Regions from separate parts of the Homo sapiens genome. Here region 2 is linked to region 1. Evidence: promoter capture Hi-C in 16 types of primary human blood cells and fetal thymus (Javierre and others, 2016). All regions are on one chromosome and are shown on one strand. Each heading gives the region's core, a stretch centred on a gene start or on the middle of the fragment in contact. The rest is flanking DNA. Distances are from core to core; before and after follow the strand shown.

What was found. The method cuts DNA at HindIII sites, captures the fragments that hold promoters and counts their contacts. A CHiCAGO score of 5 or more calls a contact.
Region 2: a contact is called between a fragment that was not itself captured here and the fragment with the promoter of NKX6-2 in region 1, in 1 of 17 cell types (endothelial precursors). The highest score is 5.6, in endothelial precursors.

What each region holds. Positions count from the first base shown.
Region 1 is chr10:132,784,753-132,788,490 of GRCh38, forward strand. NKX6-2 (NK6 homeobox 2) reads right to left here and starts at 1,395. Exons shown (of 3, transcript NM_177400.3): 1 at 791-1,395; 2 at 528-700; 3 at 1-418. The coding sequence starts at 1,196. The coding sequence ends at 164. The HindIII fragment of the contact is 11,480 bases long and covers 1-3,738 here.
Region 2 is chr10:132,655,467-132,658,980 of GRCh38, forward strand. All of the region lies in intron 4 of INPP5A (inositol polyphosphate-5-phosphatase A), which reads left to right. Among named protein-coding and RNA genes, the nearest start is that of INPP5A, 120 kb to the left of the region's middle. The HindIII fragment of the contact is 2,709 bases long and covers 586-3,294 here.

The sequences.
Region 1 (3,738 bases), core at 145-2,644:
TCGCTCCGGGTTCGAGACGGAAGAAACACGCGGCGCAGGCTCCGGAGCGACGGCTCCGACGGGGACCCGTTAAATAATTTATTGATGATACAAAGCGACTCGCGCCCACCCGGGGCCGCCCCCGGATTCTGCAAAAATAGATTCGCCCCCACCCCGCGGGTCCTCACAAGGCGTCCCCCGCGCCGCCGCCGCACGGGCTGACCAGCGCCAAGTTCGAGGGTTTGTGCTTCTTGAGCAGCCGCGTGATCTTCTCGTCGTCCGAGTTGGGGTCCAGGGGCCGGTTGTATTCGTCGTCGTCCTCCGCGTCCGAGCCGCCCACCTTCAGCTTCTCGGCGTCCGAGTCCTGCTTCTTCTTGGCCGACGCCATCTCCACCGCGTGCCGCTTGCGCCACTTGGTCCGGCGGTTCTGGAACCAGACCTGGGAGTGGACGGGGCGGTCAGGCGGCCGCGGGGCCCGGGGCTGGCGCTGGGGCCGTTCGCAGGACGCGGGCCCCCGGCTCTGCTCTCCCGAGCCCCGCCGCGCTCACCTTCACCTGGCTCTCGGTCATGCCCAGCGAGTAGGCGAGACGCGCGCGCTCCGGGCCCGCCAGGTACTTGGTCTGCTCGAAGGTTTTCTCCAGCGCGAAGATCTGCTGGCCCGAGAAGGTCGGGCGCGAGTGCTTCTTCTTCCCGTCCTTGTCCAGGACGCCGCCGGCCGGGGCTGCAAGGGAGGGGAAGGGAGGGAGGTCAGCGGCCGGCGGGGTCCCCCTCCGCGCCCACCCGCCCCGCACCCCCCGCGCGGGCCACTCACCCGGGCCAGCCAGACGCGGGTCCCTCCAGGGCGCGCCCTGCACCACGCCGGGCCAGAAGATGGGCGGGCGCCCCGGCAGCTCGGCCAGGGGCTTGGGGTAGCCGCGCGCCACAGCGGCCGCGGGCCCGAAGTAAACGCCGGCGGACGACGCGAGCCCGTTGAGCCGGGGCAGCCCCCCCAGGAGGCCCCCGCCCGCCGCGCCCACGGGCCGGCCCAGGATGTCGCTGATGCCGTGCGGGGTCCCGAGCGGGAGCTGCGCGCCCAGGCCCCCCAGCGCGGGCGCCTTGAAGCCGGCCGGACCCTGCAGCGCGTAGGGGAACAGCGACGTCTTCATCTCGGCCATGTTGTGCAGCGCGGCCAGCGGGGCACTGCTCAGCACGAACGCGCCCGGGCGGTTAGTGTCCATGGGCGCCGCCGCCGCCGGCCCGGGCTCCCATCCGGGCCCCGCCGCCGCCGCCCCTGCCCGCCGGCCCGGGAAGTTTGCGCGCGGCCCGGGCGGGCGTCGGCTGCAGCGCGGGGCGCGGGGCGCGGGGGGCGGGCGGGCGGCTCCGGCGCGGGGCGGGCGGGCGGGCGGCGGCGGCGGCGGCTCCGGGGCCGGTCGGAGCGGCGCCGCGCGGGACGGACGCGCTGATAACGGGGGCTCCCCGGGGCGCGGCGCGCGCGCTGATTGGCTGCGGACCCCGCGGTCCGGCCATTGGCCGGCGCCCCCCCCCCGCCCGCGCGCCCCCGCCGGCCGCGCACTCCATGAAGGGCCCATTAGCGCGGCAGGTGCCTCCCGGGCTGTAAATTCGCCCCGATTTATCTCCCCGGGGACGAAATAAATCCAGCTTGGATGGGAGTGTAGTTAGGCAAAGGTTTTCATGCGAAATCAGGAAAAAATACGAGAACGTATTTTATTAACGGAAAGAATGCAGATTTGAGGACCCGCCCGCGCGCTCGGAGCGCCCCACTCGGGGAAGAGTCCCGGCCCGCGTCCCAGTCGCGACTGCTCCGCCGCCCGTGGCTGGGGTGGGTGTGAGCGGCAGCGGACGCCGGCGGGGAACGCGCTCCGGGCAGGTCGGGGCCACAGGAGGGCGGAGGACGCGGGCCTCGAGTCCACGGAATCCACGGGCCTCACGGCCGGGCGAGGCTCGCACGGAGCTGCCTCTGGTTTCGCCGACACGCGGCCGGCGCGGTGGAGGAGTGAGGCAGGCGGGAGCGGGGCGGGGAGGCGGGTCCCGGGACCACACGCGCGGCTCGGCACTTCCCCGTCATCGGCCTCCAGGTCTCCCGCTGGGGGTCCCCCAGGATGTGACCTGGGCCCACGACTTCGCCCACGGGCCGCCTCTCGCGAATCCCCGGCCGGGAGAACAGAGACCAGGACGGCCTCAGCGCGGAAGCCCTGTCCAGGGCCCGAACGTGGGTGCGGGCTGGGGGCGCAGCGGCAGAAACGCGGCCTTAGACGCGCGCGGGGGGCCGGTGTCCCCCCCGCCCCCACGGCACCGGGAGCCGCTCGCTCATCCATCCCGCAGACCGGGCGGTGAGATGACTCCGAGCCCCGCGCACGGCGGCCGCGAGCAAACGCTCCGACGTCTGTGGTGACGTCTCGTATTGATTTAGGGACACGGGGCGGCTGTGGCTGTGGCCCACGGCTCGTGGGGAGCCCGAGTCTGTGCGCAGGGAACGCCGCTGCGTGGCCTCTCTCGGGCCTGTGCCGCGGAGGAAGGCGGCGCCCGGGGTTCGGGGCCGGGGTCTCACGTCCGCCCCCTCGCCCCCCTCCAGCGTCCGTTTTCGTTTTGTGCAGGTCGAGGCGGGGACTTGGCGCCGTCGGCCGCTCCTGGATGGCGGCTTGGAAAAGCCACCTGCGGCCAAACTCCGGGGCAGTGGTGCGGCCGCCGGGTGTGTGCGCGCTCGGGGCTGCCCCGGCGGCTTCCGGCTCCACTGAGGTGCAGCCCCGCGTTCACGGGGGGTTCGCTTCCCCCGTCGACTCCGCACTCGATTCGACTGGGATTGGGATTCGATTGGGCGCGGCCGCCCCACCGGTGATCGGCCCCCGCGGAGCCTGGCCCGGGAACCCCCAGCGCCCGTCCGGCCCCGAGACCCGCCCCGGCCTGTCCTGCGCCCCGCTCCCTCGGAGGAGACACGAGGAAGGGCCCTCCCGGGTCGGGTTCGGGCCCCTCCCAGCACCCCAAGGCGACGGCGCCCGCGCCCAAGGCTCGGGCTCTGAGCTGAGACGCGGGAACTGCGGGGCCGGGGGGGGCGGGCAGGGGGAGTTGGGGGCGGGGGCTGCTGTCGCCCTGGGATCCCCCACTCTGCGCGGCCGGGCAGACCCTGGGCGGGCCGGGAGGGGTGCGGGTCGCCCGAACTGAGGCCCAGGAGGCGCGCGCGGGCGGAACGGCGGGAGGAAGCCGCGCTCGGGACAGGCTCTGGCTCTTCTCACAGCCTGGAGGGGCGGGGCAGGGGGCGTCGCTAGCGCTGTTTTATGGCTGAGGAAACATGGACCTGGAGGCGCTGCGCTGCGGCCCGATAAACCCTGGGTCTGTCTGCGCCCCCCGGTCCTCCCTGGGCTGCCGAGGGAACGCGTGGGGTCGCGGGTGGGGCTGGCGTGTCACTGGCTGCGGAGCGCGCGGCTCTCCAGGGCTCAGGGGCGCGGGATGAGGGGCCAGGGTGAGTTGGGGGCGCAGAGGAGCCGGGTAAGGGGGGGTCCCTCTCCCACGTTCTTGTAAGCCGTGGAAGTCTTGGCGCGCTCCGCAGGTGCCGCGTCCTACCCGGCTCCCCGGCCTGCGCCCCACGCGCTTTCCCGCCCTCCTCCTCGCGGAGCTGCGCGTGGGTCCGGTGGCTTCACCTCCTACGCTTCCCGGCGCCCACTCCGGGCCCCGTCCCCTCTCCGGCCCCCGCCCGCACCTTTTCTCCTGCGTCCCCCGGTGCCGCCCTCTCGGAAACCACCGAGGCAACTCCCCCTCCTCCCG
Region 2 (3,514 bases), core at 690-3,189, 130 kb before region 1:
AATCCCGTGTCTTGTCTGCCGGGCACGCAGGGAGCTCCGAGAACACATCAGTCAGCGCCCAGAGAGCCGACGTCGGCCAGAGGACGCAGGGTAACGGCTTTCCTGAACTCCGCTTCCAAGAGGGTTCTGTGAGGAAGAGGTTGCAAATTCATTTTCGTTTAACGTCACCCGCATCTGGTTTCACCACAGAAGTGGAGCCCTGCAGTGGGAGGGGTGGGGGGCCTGTCACTGGGCTTTGCTGCTGATTTGGCCTACCTGGGAAGCCCAGAAGATGTATTTACTGTAGGGACTTGAGGCTTGCTTGGGGCCTGGTAGGAGCCAAGGCCACCCCATCCTCCCAGCTCAGCTTGGTGACTTACCATCCATGGCTCTGGTTCGCTTGTCACCCGCCCCTCCCAGAGAGGCTGCGTGGGGCTGCAGGCGCCTGAGTGTAGGTCCCAGCCTGTGTCCTGGGCTCTAGTCCCATTGAAGCCTTGTGGCTGGCTGGGCATGGGTCCCATGCAGACTGGTGGGGCCAGGAGGGCCTGGCGTGGGCACCTGCAGCAGCTTCTTCAAGGCCTCCCAGCACTGACCGTGGCCTCTCAAAGCTTCGGCTGCTTCAGCAGCTTTCCTGCTGGGAGCTGTGAGCACTGCTGGGGCCCATGCCCAGGACTGTCCTGACCGGACTGAAAGCCCTAGAGGGAAGCTGGCAGTGGGGACAGGGTGCAAGAGGAAAGACCCTCTCTCCATGCAGCTCCTTCATCCACCCACCTGGAGGAACTCCTAGAGGGAAGGTGGCAGTGGGGTCAGGGTGTGAGAAGGAAAGCCCCACTCTCCTCTTCATCCACCCACCCAGAAGAAGTTTGAAGAAACCATGCCTTTTAATGGCTTAAAGTTGGAGCAGAAGGGTTTATCTGCTGATACAATTAAGATAGCTTCGGGAGAGGGCTGAGAAGGTGTGGCCTGGCGGACACACTGCCTCCAGGGACACCCCTGCCCCCGCCAGCTGTGCCTGCTCAGAGAGTGCCTGCTCCTCGGAGGGTCCCCCCTGCTTGGGAAGGTACCTGCTGCACAGGACCCCAGCTGGAGTCAAGGAGTCAGCAGAAGAGGGGGTTGGAGGAGCGGCTGGGGACAGGAGGTGGCTGTGCGGGCTGCCCCACCTCGCCTCTTGCCTGAGCCCCTCTGTGGCCACATAGACAGAAGGAGGGGTTGGAGGTGCAGCCAGCCAGCTGGGCCAGGTGAGCCGGTCCTGAAGGGCACCAAGCAGGGTTGCCCCGGGCTCCTGAGAGGATTTTTCACATGCAGCAGCTGGAGACAGTTTGGAGGGGCCCAGGGCGGTGCAGACCCTTCCACAGCTGCTCAGGTGGCCCGGAGGCGTGTGCACCCTTCCCTATGCAGCAGGGCTCCACAGGCCTGGGCACTCAGCCCAGATGGTGCATGTGGGGAACCGTGGGACCCCATGTGCCAGGAGTCTCTGGGCAGACAGCAGCGACAGGGCTGTGTGGGGACTTGGGCAGGCCTGAGCCTGGGGTCCGATGACCTAGTTGGGTCTGGGGCAGCCACAAGCCGAGGCGTTGAGGAAGAGAGAGTGAAGTCTGAGCTCCTTGTGTAGGAGACCTCCGTGTGGAGTAGCCCCAGAGGCAGGAGGCTGCCTCAGCCAGGATGGCCCCATGCACTTGCTAAGCTGCGCCGCCTGCTCACTCAAGGCTCTTGGGCTCGGAGCAGAACTATGAGCCTGCAAGGCCTGCTGGGCAGAGTGGCCACAGCACGTGGCCGCTGGTCACCAACCGGGGGCTTACCCCTCTCCCACCCGCTAGCGCTGCCTTTGCACCTCGGAGGGCAGGTCTCTGCTGGCACCATGAGTGACCTGCAAGCACTGCCATGGTGGACTCTGCTCGCGCCTTGGTGGCTTCTAGGCTTTTCCAGGGGCTCTGGCCTCCTGCAGAGCAGGGTCTGCCTCCCCCGCGGCTGGGTCTGTGGAGAGTGAAGTGGGGCACAGATGCCCTTTGCAAGTGCTGTGCACGGCAGCTCACAGCCCCCACCCCCAGCTCTGTAGTCTGTAAGAGGCAGGCTCTCGGCATGGCCCCCAGGCAGTGGCCCTGGTGCTCTTGGGGTGGGGGGCCCCAGTACCCAGCGGTGGCCCAGGAATGAGAGGCCCGCTGCTTCCTGGGAGAGGCCCTTCTGCTTTCCCTCCTCCTCCTCTGTGAGCTCCCCCTTCCACTCTCGTTCTCCTAAATAAGACTTTAGGGAGAATTTATGGAAAATTGATGGAGTTTACGGATGTTCTTTGATCCAGAGAAGGGGAAGGAAAGGCAAACGCGTTTATGATGAGGAAGCTCATCTGCCTTAGGGCTCCAGCCCTGCCCTGGGGCTCGCTGCCTCCTCACCTGCCTGGGGGCAAGACAGTCCTGATGAAGTGAGAGGGGGCGAGATTGGTTTTCTGAGGGCACCGGGCCCTTCATGCTCCCCTAAATCACGGGCTGTCTCCTCAGCGGGCAGGTAATGACCTGCTCCCCGGCCCCAGCACCTGCAGTCCCGTGGGACGCGATGATGTGCGGCTGGGGCTGCAGTGAAGGTGAAACTGTCATATCGATCTTTTTAGCACTAAAATATGAGCCACTTTACTCCGCTCCCCGCTGCTGTGATGTGAAAAATAATAACTCGGATCCAAATTAAAAATATTGATCTCTGGAAGGTGTTGAAAGTAAATAAACACCTTCCGAAGTTTTTGGGTCAGCCGAGAAATGGTATTCAGCAATAAATGTGTCAGAGTCCAGGGTTCTTGATCTGTTTTTTCTTTGAATTGATTTTTCATTATTTACTTCCTAAAAGTGTTGGAATTTGGTCCTCCACTGTGAAATCCCAGTGTTTGGGCACATTATTTCTTTGGGGCTTATGAGGTGCTCCTAATCCACTCCCTTATTGATGGATTGATGTTTGACTCCATAAGCCTGCTTTATTTAGGACCTTCCATCATAATTTTTTGTACATTTAGGCTTGACTCTTTTATTTCCTTCTAACAGATGAGCTGACATTGGGCTATCAAACGGGTGGGAAAACAATTGCCATGAGGTTAATTTCATGGTCGGCTCCGTGCGTTCTGAGCAGACGGGTGTTTCCTGGCTGCAGGCCGGGCCTTGGATGCAGCCTTGACGCGTGTCGATCTGTTTACACACAGGGCTGAGTCCGCCGGCCCCCCGGGGGTGCTCATGGGTGCCCGGGTGTCTGCAAGCTGCCCGCAGCTGGGTGGTCTCTGGGCACGGATGCTCTAGGCCCTCTGGGCTCCAAGGAGGCTGGGTTGTATGTCTCTTGAGAAGCTTTCCTTTCGAAAGGCCACCAAGACCACCGAGACTGCTGAGACCGCCAAAGCCACCAAGACCGCCGAGACTGCCAAGACCACCAAGGCCGCCGGCTGCTCCCGGTGGCTCCATGCACCCGGCAGGAGAGTGGAAGGCGTCGGGCCTGGGGCAGTTTGAAAAGATAGGTGCCGCCAGCATCTGCGCTTCCTCGTGGGTGCTCAACAGGCTGCCTGGGA